2 separate regions of the Homo sapiens genome follow, and region 1 is linked to region 2. Evidence: promoter capture Hi-C in human tissues and cell types (Jung and others, 2019). All regions are on one chromosome and are shown on one strand. Each heading gives the region's core, a stretch centred on a gene start or on the middle of the fragment in contact. The rest is flanking DNA. Distances are from core to core; before and after follow the strand shown.

The links. Contacts are between HindIII fragments. The study calls those that stand out against the background at their distance.
Region 1: a contact is called between the fragment with the promoter of DHDDS here and the fragment with the promoter of SLC30A2 in region 2, in 1 of the 25 tissues and cell types used here (mesenchymal stem cells).

Annotation. Positions count from the first base shown.
Region 1 is chr1:26,430,883-26,436,346 of GRCh38, reverse strand. It overlaps DHDDS (dehydrodolichyl diphosphate synthase subunit), which reads right to left and starts at 4,026. Exons shown (of 9, transcript NM_205861.3): 1 at 3,971-4,026; 2 at 3,339-3,456. The coding sequence starts at 3,401. It overlaps LOC124903883 (a long non-coding RNA gene), which reads left to right and starts at 4,110. Exons shown (of 2, transcript XR_007065557.1): 1 at 4,110-4,374; 2 at 5,229-5,464. RefSeq lists enhancers at 3,707-4,196, 3,734-4,270, 4,297-4,356, 4,427-4,486, 4,271-4,807. The HindIII fragment of the contact is 9,291 bases long and covers 1-5,464 here.
Region 2 is chr1:26,043,244-26,048,733 of GRCh38, reverse strand. It overlaps SLC30A2 (solute carrier family 30 member 2), which reads left to right and starts at 2,616. Exons shown (of 8, transcript NM_001004434.3): 1 at 2,616-2,887; 2 at 3,517-3,737; 3 at 4,290-4,436; 4 at 5,183-5,336. The coding sequence starts at 2,838. LOC105376910 (a long non-coding RNA gene) reads right to left here and starts at 476. Exons shown (of 2, transcript XR_001737948.2): 1 at 1-476. RefSeq lists an enhancer at 3,017-3,585. The HindIII fragment of the contact is 12,838 bases long and covers 1-5,490 here.

The DNA of each region.
Region 1 (5,464 bases), core at 2,777-5,276, 390 kb before region 2:
TCATTTGCAACCTCCACCTTTCGGGAGGAGAAAGGTCCTCCCACTTCAATTCCCCAAGTAGCTGGGACTACAGGAATACACCACCACACCCAGCTAATTTTTTTATATTTTGTAGAGACGGGGGTCTCACCATGTTGGCCAGGCTGCTCTCGAACTCCTGGGATCAAGAGATCTACTCGATTTGGCCTCCCAAAGTGCTGGGATTACAGGTTTGAACCATCGTGTCTGGCCAGGAAAAATTTTGATGGGCATAGTCAAATGAAGATGGTACCTTCCACAGAAAAAAGGAACTCATAGGGCCAGGTGCAGTGGCTCACGTCTGTAATCCCAGCACTTTGGGAGGCCAAGGTGGGTGGATCACTTGAGGTCAGGAGTTCAAGACCAGCCTGGCCAACATGTTGAAACCCCATCTCTACTAAAAATGTGAAAATTAGGGCTGGGCACAGTGGCTCATGCCTGTAATCTCAGCACTTTGGGAGGCGAAGGCGGGCAGATCACGAGGTCAGGAATTCAAGACCAGGCTGGCCAGTATGGTGAAACCCCGTCTCTACTAAAAATACAAAAATTAGCCAGGTGTGGTGGCAGATGCCTGTAACACCAGCTACTTGGGAGGCTGAGGCAGGAGAACTGCTTGAACCCGGGAGGCAGAGGTTGCAGTGAGCCAAGATCACGCCACCACACTGCAGCCTGGGCGACAGAGCAAGACTCCATCTCGGAAAAAAGAAAAAAACAAAAACAAAAATTAGCCAGGTGTGGTGGTGGGAGCCTGTAATCCCAGCTACTTAGGAGGCTGAAGCAGGAGAATGGCTTGAACCCGGGAGGCAGAGGTTGCAGTGAGCCGAGATAGCACCACTGCACTCCAGCCTGGGTGACAGAGTAAGACTCTGTCTCAAAAAAAAAAAAAAAAAAAAAAAAAGGCACTAATTCCTGACCTCTAGCCAACTGCTGACACACAGGAACTGGGGCACAACATTGCTGGATCTGGTGATCTTGCAAGAAAACCAAACATCAGGATTTTTATTAAAATTTTGCTTTTCAGCCGGGCGCAGTGGCTCATGCCTGTAATCCCAGCACTTTGGGAGGCCGAGGCGGGTGGATCACGAGGTCAGGAGTTTAAGACCAGCCTGGCCAAAATGGTGAAACCCTGTCTCTACTAAAAATAAAGAAAAATTAGCCGGGCGTGGTGGCGAGCGCCTGTAATCCCAGCTACTCGGGAGGCTGAGGCAGGAGAATTGTTTGAACCGGGGAGGCAGAGGGTACAGTGAGCTGAGATTGTGCCACTGCACTCCAGCCTGGGCGACAGAGTGAGACTCTGTCTGAAAAAAAAAAATTGTTTTTCAAAGCAAACAAAAAAGACTTTTTTTGAGCCAAACAAAACTTACTTGGGGCCGGACGTGGTGGCTCAAGCCTGTAATCCCAGTACTTTAGGAGGCTGAGGTGGGCAGATCACTTGAGGCCAGGAGTTCGAGACCAGCCTGGCCAACATGGTGAAACCCCAACTCTACTAAAAAAAAAAAAAAAAAAAATTAGCCAGGCATGGTGGCCGGTGCCTATAATCCCAGCTACTTGGGGAGGCTGAGGTGGGAGAATCGCTTGAACCCAGGAGACAGAGGTTGCAGTAAGCCAAGACTGCACCACTGCACTCTAGCCTGGGCAACAGAGTAAGACTGCATCTCAAAAAAGAAACCACAAAAAACAAAACCCTTATTTGGCTTGGAGCAGCTTTGAGTTGTCTCCCATAACACAAATGGACTCCTTAGCCTATTTTTCCTCACCTGGGAGGGCTCTTCCCTGACTGCTTCCTCATCAACACTTCTCCTTTTTCTACTTCTGTCTCACATACAGCCTTTCCAGCCCCCAAAATCCATTCAAGTTATGCAGCTTGTTCTTCCAAACATACCACTGCAGTGGTTCCCCAAGGAGATACTTCCCATTTCCTGGACTGCTTGAGATCACTTGGCATTTGTTTGTGAGCATGTGTGGGGCTTGTATAAAGGTTACTGACTCATAAATTCATTACTACCTGCTGCTTGACAGCCTGTGGTTGAAAAACAAAACCAAGCTGACTGGCCCCAATCTCAAACCTGTCTTAGGCAGATATAATATTGCTGTGATTCCTAGAGAAAAAGCTGAGGGAAGATTTGGGGAAGATAGGAGATAATAGTCTTCAAATGTCTGAAAGACAATCCTAATAATAATTAAGAACTGCTAGACATTATGCTAACTGCTTTATATTAATGTCTCATAAATTCTCATGATAATTCTACAGTTGTTAAAGTCACATGATTACTAAATGATAGAACTGGACTTTCAGGCCAGGTGCAGTGGCTCAGTCCTATAATCCCAGCACTTTGGGAGGCTGAGATAGGTGGATCACCTGAGGTCAGGAGTTCGAGACCAGCCTGGCCAATATGAGAATCCCATCTCTACTAAAAATATAAAAATTAGCCATGTGTGGTAGCATATGCCTGTAACCCCAGCTACTTGGGAGGCTAAGGCAAGAGAATTGCTTGAACTTGGCAGATGAAGGTTGCAGTAAGCCAAGATTGCGCCATTGCACTCCAGCCTGGGCGACAGAGCGAGACTCCATCTCAAAATAAAAAAAAGAACAGGAATTTCACCCATGTTTGTCTGCGTCTAGAGCCCAAACTCTTTTTTTTTTTTTTTTTTTGAGACAGAGTCTTGTTCTGAACTCTTTTTTTTGAGACAGTCCCGTTCTGTCACCCAGGCTGGAGTGTGGTGGCACAATCATGACTCACTGCAGCTTTGACCTGGGCTCAAGAAATTCTCCCACTTCAGCCTTCCGAGTAGCTGGGACTACAGGTGCACACCACCAAGCCCTGCTATTTTTTTAATTTTTTGGAGAATCGGGGTTTTGCCATGTTGCCCAGGCTGGTCTCAACTCCTGAGCTCAAACAATCTGCCCACCTCAGCCTCCCAAATTGCTGGGATTACAGGCGTGAGTGACCGGGCCCAGCTCTACTGACAGATCAAAGAATATATCAAAGATTAACCTATTTAAATCAAGAAGACAGTACATGGAACAATGGATCAATGTTCCAGGGAAACAAATTTCAGTTCTCTATAAAGAATACTTAGCAGTCTAGGCTGCCCAGTGACATTAAGAGGCCTGGGCTTCCAGAAAATATCAGAGTTAGGACAAAAGTCTACCAGAAATGTAGACCTGGAAGTTACCATTCTAAGACTCTTTGGTTTCCTTGCTAAATTCCACTTAACATCATGAATTGCACTTAACATCATCAACTTTAATAACAGGTTTTTATATAAGATTATCCAACTGACCAGAAGGCCAACCGGTGCTCTGGGCCATTGCTCACCTTTATGATGTTGGCACAGAACCGCTCCCAAAGTGACAGCTCTCCTTCCTTGATCCATGACATAGTTCTTTTCCAGTCAGAAGATCACTCCAGAACAAGCAAACACCAGCCAGGTAATCTTGGATAAACAAGAAAGAAAATAAGAAGTCACCAAGGTTTGCGAAGAGCTATAACTGACTTCTGGGGAATCAGATGGACTATGGAGAGCAGCCAGCATTAGAATCCAAAGACACTGGTCTAAGCCTATAATCTTTTACCACCCAGAGTTTTATAACGCAATGTGACCTCTGGAGGCAAAAGCCTTTCCTCGGTTCTCCTGGCTTTGCAGACTTCTTCCCATTCCCATTTCCTCCGTATCTGCACTGACTTCTTCTGAACATCTAAGTCGGTTTCCTGCCACATCATGGTGCCCACATCTTGATCATTCCCCGTTTCTTCCTTCTCCATCTTCCCCTAAGCTGTTTCCAACTCTGTGCTCCCAGTTACTAACTCCTTCAGTTATCGCACGCCTAGTACTTCACGCCTCAGTGGTCTCCTGATTATTCCCTCAGTCGTCCCTTTGCTTCTCCCGCAGCTGCTCCCCGCCCAGTCACCCTCTTCTCCTCTAGTTCACCCCTTCAGTTCAGTGGCACCTGATTAGCTCCGCTGGGCGCGTCCCCACGGCTTCAGTGGGCCGGCACTTCCTCATGACGTGGCGCTGGCAGAACACGTCATCTTTGGGCGCTGCGACACGCCCCTTCCGTCACCCAAACTGAGGGGACCCTGCCCTGCGCCTGCGCCTGCGAGCTAGTGGGAGGGCGGTTCTCAGTCCCGCGGGGTGTGGAAGCCGGCGCGGGTGAGAGCCAGGCTCACGTGACCGAGCGGGGCGGGAGGCTGGGCTCCAGGCCACGTGCTGGGAGACCAGCTGGGGAAGACAGGGTTGAGCCCAGCGTTGGGAGCGGAGGCGTCTGGAAAACGCGCCAGGGAAATGAGCCAGGGGCAAGAATCGAGGCGCTTCTCGGCCGTCGAAGGCAGCTTAGGACTGCTGAGAGACTGGGTAAGGCAGCGTCCTTACCTTGGAATGCCGCAGAACCGGGCTTCATTAGAGCACTGGTGCATACTCTTAAAAATTATCTCGTTACCGTTTCGTATTTTATTTAGTGGATTTAATCGTCTGGGAAGGAGTTTCTAGCCGCAGCCAATCTTACAGACGCGCAGAATATTAATCTATTTTGTGCCGACTTAAGGCACGCATATTTTAGGATTTGTGGATTCCCAAGACCTATCCCAACGAACTCAAGAGAAGGGGTAAGGCCAGAAAGATTTCTGCCATAAGAATGACTTCTAGGCCAGGCGCGGTGGCTCACGCCTGTAATCCCAGCACTTTGGGAGGCCGAGGCGAACGGATCACCTGAGGTCAGGAGTTTGAGACCAGCCTGACCAACATCGTGAAACCCCGTCTGTACTAAAAATACAGAAAATGAGCCGGGCGTGGTGGCGGGCGCCTGTTATCCCAGTTACTCGGGAGGGTGAGGCAAGAGAATCGCTTGAACCCGGGAGGCGGAGGTTGCGGTGAGCCAAGATCAGGCCACTGCACTCCAGCCTGGGCAACAGGAGCGAAACTCTGTCTGAAAAAAGAAAAAAAAAAAAAGCATGACTTCTAAAATAACAGAAAGGTGCTCGCTTTGGCAGTACATAAATGAAAATAACAGAAATTAACCCTGGTAGAAAAGTTAAGGGCATTAGCTCTACTGAACCTTTACGAAAAAAAGGGTTGCAAGAATTCTAGGCTCACAAAACAAATTTGTAGTTCAATTTTCTCAAAATTGAAAGAGGAGGAAAAAATTCTTTACAGATTCTTATACAACCAGTATTATTTTTATTTATTTATTTATTTATTTATTTATTTAGAGACGGAGTCTGGCTATGTCGCCCAGGCTGGAGTGCAGTGGCGCGATCTCGGCTCACTGCAGCCTCCGCCTCCCGGGTTCAAGCGTTTCTCCTGCTTCATCCTCCTGAGTAGCTGGGACTACAGGCGCGTGCCACCAAGCCTGGCTAATTTTTGTATTTTTAGTAGAGACAGGGTTTCACCATTTTGGCCAGGATGGTTTTGATCTCTTGACCTCGTTATCTGCCTGCCTAGACCT
Region 2 (5,490 bases), core at 1,367-3,866:
AGAATCAGTATTATAACGTGTGTATGTTCTGTTACTTCTCCAGGCTACTGATCATGTAAGCAGCAAGCATTTCAGCCCCGTATCTTGTCACTTATGGAAGAGAAGAGAGAGCAGTTGAGACTTTGGGTAATCAGTTAAAGATTAAATTCCAGGAAGATACCTGTTAATTGCAACTAAGGGGATCTTTCCTTTGCCATAGGAAGGGCTCTTCCTGTACTTGCAAACTAGAACCCTTAAGATGGTATGAAGGGTTCTTGATCAACATGCTTCCTTTAAAATCATGCTGCAAGAGAGGACAGCTGGCTTCAAGGGGGTTCTTTCAATGAATCTTGAATACAGCTCCATGGGCTGCTACATCAGAATTGCCAGGAAAGGTTTATTTTTCCCCAAGTCTTTAATTCTGAAACTTTTTTTTTTTTTTTTTTTAGACAGAGTTTCACTCTTGATTGCCCACGCTGGAGTGCAATGGCATGATCTCGGCTCACTGCAACCTCTACCTCCCGGGTTCAAGTGATTCTCCTGCCTCAGAATTCTGAGTAGCTGGGATTACAGGCGCCTGCCACCATGCCTGGCTAATTTTCTTATTTTTAGTAGAGACGAGGTTTTGCCATGTTGACCAGGCTGGTCTCGAACTCTTGACCTCAGGTGATCCGCCTGCCTCAGCCTCCCAAAGTGCTGGGATTATAGGCGTGAGCCGCCGCACCCAGCCAACATTTTTTAAATACTGAAAAGTAGAGGGAATAGTTATAGTGTACCCCATTTACCCATCACTCAGTTTCAACAGCTGGTGACATATTTATTTCTTCTATACCAGTACCGTACTCTCCCCACTGGGATTATTTTAAGGCAAAACCCAGATGACATTTTATCCCTAAATACTTTAGATAAAGGTGTTCTTTGAAAAAAATCATAACCTCAGGACCAGCCTGGCCAACATGGTGAAACCCTGTCTGTACTAAAAATACAAAAATTAGCTTGGCATGGTCGTGGGCACCTGTAATCCCAGCTACTCAGGAAGCTGAGGCAGGAGAATCACTTGAATCCGGGAAGCAGAGATTGCAGTGAGCTGAGATTGCAGTCGAGCCTGGGCGACAGAGACAGAAATGAAACTCTGTCTCAAAAACAAACAAACAAAAAAACCACTATACATAAAAATGAACAATGATGCCACAATAGCACCAGAGAATTTTATAAATACAGATTCCCAGGCCCTGCCCCAGACCTACTGAATCCTGGAAATATTCAGGCTCCACACCCAGAGATTCTGGTTCGGTTGGTCTGATGCAGGGACCTGTAACCTGCGTTGTAACACCTTCTCCAGGTAATGCTGAGCCTGCTGGTGCTCAGAGTAGACAGACCTGGAGAAAACCAGGGTGTCTGAGGTTTTCCAGAAGAAAACCAGAGTCCAGAGAAGCAGAGAGGCACTCAGTGAGGACCCAAGCAGAGCGGGTGCACCTCACATCCTCACTCCTGGCACCCCGTCTCCTACAAGATGAGAGACTGAAAGAGCCCCTTCCTGTCCCCAGTGGTGTGGGCAAGAGGCCTGCACCTCTGACTCTTGGCTCTGTGAAAGGCCATACCCACCAAGCCTATGGTCCTAGCGACAAAGGGTGCTGGGGAGACGAATTGACCAGACAGGGAGGTCTCCAGCAGCTTCTTTCTACACAGAGGGCACCTGTCAGAGGCCAGCGTGGGGGCCACAGGCTCCCCAATCCCCAAGAACCGCCAGGGAAGGAGGCTGCTTCAAGTGGGTGGGGCACCAAGCTGGCCAGGAAGGACAGGGCTTCTCCCAGCGGTACCAACACGGTGGCACCTCCGGCCTGCATCTCCCAGGCTTGCTTGTCAGGCTTCCTGGGGCTCCCAGGAGCCGCTGCGGGGGAGGGGAGAAGGGGTGGCAGCAGTGGCAGTGGTCGTCTCTGCTCCGATGGTGACTGCCGATGACACTGTTCTCTGTGCGGGTGGAGACAAAGCCGGCCACTCCAGATTCTCCTGCGCGCAGGAGAGGAGGAGCTGGCGCTGCTTCAGTGGCGAGGATGGGTCGATCAGTCCCAGCCGGTCCTAGGGAGAGACACTGCCCCAGCCTGAGGGCGGCGCAGCCCACCCCACCCCAGGACCCTCCTAGCAGGAGGACAGGAACGCAAGCCGACCTCGGGGGGTCTCCGGCCTGAGAGGGGAACATGATCAAGCCCAGGGCAGCCGCCAGTCGGAGGGGGCAGACGCGGCCCCAGTAGCCTCTGGAGACCCTCTTCCGAGGCAAGGAGCCACATTCCTGCCGTCGGGACCACCAAAGCGGATTTCTACAAACTAAAGTCGAGAACTTTTCGGCGGCGAGGCGGCGCACCCCGCGCGGGAGAGGGGGCGCAGGCGTCACCCCGTCCTCACTCAGCAACACCCGGCGCCGCGCCGGGCGAAGGCTGGCAAACTTCTCGCGGCCGGCAGGTGGGCTCCGCGGGCCCCATGGGCGCAGGCACAGGTGTGCGGGGCCACAGCCGGGCCTTTTGCAGCCGGCGACCGCCCCCCCTTCCCCGCGGGCTTTTGCACACGACGCGCCGACGGCAGCTTCACACGGGTTGGCGAGGGCCGGATAAAGCCGGCGGCCGCGGGGCGCAGCGGCTGACCCGAGACACGGGAGCGCTTGGCACGCGGAGCCAGAGCCGGAGCTGCAGCCGCAGCGGGAGCCGGGGGAGCTCAGGGGCCGCAGGAGCCGGGCCGGAGTGAGCGCACCTCGCGGGGCCCTCGGGGCAGGTGGGTGAGCGCCACCCGGAGTCCCGCGCGCAACTTTCAGGGCGCACTCGGCGGGGCGGCTGCGCGGCTGCCGGGACTCGGCGCGGGACTGCATGGAGGCCAAGGAGAAGCAGCATCTGTTGGACGCCAGGCCGGCAATCCGGTAAGGCGAGAGCCTGGGGACGGGCGGGAATTTTGGCGGCAGCCGACGCACCTCCGCATTTGCCATCCTAGCAGTGGTTGGTTTTGGCTGCGGCTTGAGCTGGGACCATGCAGGAGGGGTGGGGTGAGGTGAGGGAACGAAGATAATGGGCTGTGGCCCAAGGACCGTCTCTCCCTTGGGGCGCAGCCCAGATTCTGACCCCTGCCCGCGGGGGGCCTGGGGCCGGGGGATTGGCGGTTCCCATGCCTGGAGTCCCGCCCCGCCCAGCACTTTGCCCCAGGCAGCCCCGCCCCGGGGAGGCCCTGTGTCCCAAGTGCGCTGGAGGGGGCCTGCTGTTCTCCCAGAGCCTGCGCTCTGTTCCTTCCCCGCGCTCCACTGGACAGCACGCCCCTTGGCCGGTTCCCAGGGTCTTCACCTCCTCTGGCCTCTGAAGGGCCCCGGGCCCCAGGACTCCCATTCCCCTATCATCCCCGTCTGAATACAGGCTTCTCACCTCTGGTTTGTCGAGCTCGGAGCGTCCTTAGCTATTTTTCCCAGTGGACACAAGGCCTCACAGAGAAATGGGACTAGAGTCGGCCCTCCTTACCTCATCTCAGAGCTGAGCGTTCCCTCTCTTCCCCTCTGGCCAGGTCATACACGGGATCTCTGTGGCAGGAAGGGGCTGGCTGGATTCCTCTGCCCCGACCTGGCCTGGACTTGCAGGCCATTGAGCTGGCTGCCCAGAGCAACCATCACTGCCATGCTCAGAAGGGTCCTGACAGTCACTGTGACCCCAAGAAGGGGAAGGCCCAGCGCCAGCTGTATGTAGCCTCTGCCATCTGCCTGTTGTTCATGATCGGAGAAGTCGTTGGTAAGCACTTTTGGGCTAATTAAATGAAGTTGGTGCATGGATAGACTGGATGTTCCCAGCAATACTGACACTAAAAGCCCCAATTACTGAACACACACTACAGTAAGCCTTTATATACACATTATCTGATGCAGGTCTAACAACAACCTGTGTTCTCACATGGGTGACGTTATTCTCCTTACTTTACAGATGATGAAACTGAGGCATGTTCAGGTGAAGTAACTTGCCAAAGATCACGCACAACTCGTAGCTAAGGGAAGGCCTGAATTCCTAGAAGGGAAGAGCATTTACTGAGTATCTGCTATGTTTTCCAGTCCCTATTTGAACTTGATGTGCACATTCACCCTCTAAGTAGATATTGGTGGCCCATTTCACAGAGAGTGGAAGTTGAGGCTCAGAGAGAGTAGGTCACTTGTCACGGTGGTACAGCTCATGGGTAGAGAGATCTTGAGCCCAGAATGTCCTCTTCCAGAGCCTGTGGTCTCCCTGCTGCACACACAGTCTTGGGAGCCAGCTCTCTGGGGGAGCTGATAAGGACCCTCCACCCTGCAGGTGGGTACCTGGCACACAGCTTGGCTGTCATGACTGACGCAGCACACCTGCTCACTGACTTTGCCAGCATGCTCATCAGCCTCTTCTCCCTCTGGATGTCCTCCCGGCCAGCCACCAAGACCATGAACTTTGGCTGGCAGAGAGCTGGTGAGGATCGCGGTTTGGCTGGAGATGGGGTTGAGAGAGAGGGTGGGTTAGAACAGGGGTTCTTAGGTGGCTGTAATGGGTGGATCCCCCCTTCCTCCCCTGAGTGAGGCCAGGAGGGTGATCTGGATGGGGGAAGAGGATGTCAACCATGGCCTCTGTCCTCTGGGAAATCCTAGTCTGATGGGGGAGCCCTGGTCCCAGTCATCCAGGAGCTCTCAGTCTGCAGGGAAGCAAAGTTGACCTTCCTAAGAAGTGCAGTAGCCAAGCTTCAAGAACAAATGACAATGGCATTAACACTGCACATAACTCTGTGGATCAGCTCTGGGGGGAGGGGAAGGCCAGCAAAGGCTGCTGGAAGATATAGGCTTTAACCTCTCTTCCGTTCACCCTGGACTGCATCGTCACCTTCCTCTTTGTGGGAGATGGCCCAGCCTGTCTTCCCCAGAAGCCTCAGTTTACTAGCTGAACAAAAGGCACATACTTTAATAAGTCAGCTTCTTTACATGTACAACCAAAAAGGTGGACTCAGATGATGACTTATTAGTTCCTTCTAGCTCTTACATTCCTAGATATATGAGGGGTGGGGTAAGGGGCAGCCATACCGGCCATACCTTCAGCAGAGCCCAGTGGGACCCAGGCCCTGACTTTGTGTGGGAGGTGGGTGGGGAGGATCCTGAAGGAAGGGGGAAGACTCCTTAGCTCCAGGCCCATGCCAAGGTGGGTGTTGGGGTTGGGTTCTTCCTCAGAGATCTTGGGAGCCCTGGTCTCTGTACTGTCCATCTGGGTCGTGACGGGGGTACTGGTGTACCTGGCTGTGGAGCGGCTGATCTCTGGGGACTATGAAATTGACGGGGGGACCATGCTGATCACGTCGGGCTGCGCTGTGGCTGTGAACATCATGTGAGTGGGGCCCCAGTTTCCCTCGTCTCCCCTCCTCCTCCCGCCTCTCACACCCACACCTATGTCTGCTTTGCGGAAAGAGACTGTGCCACTTTCCAGCATACGCTACAGGGACAGAACTTCCCTAATGGTCTGAGCTCTGGCACCTGGAACA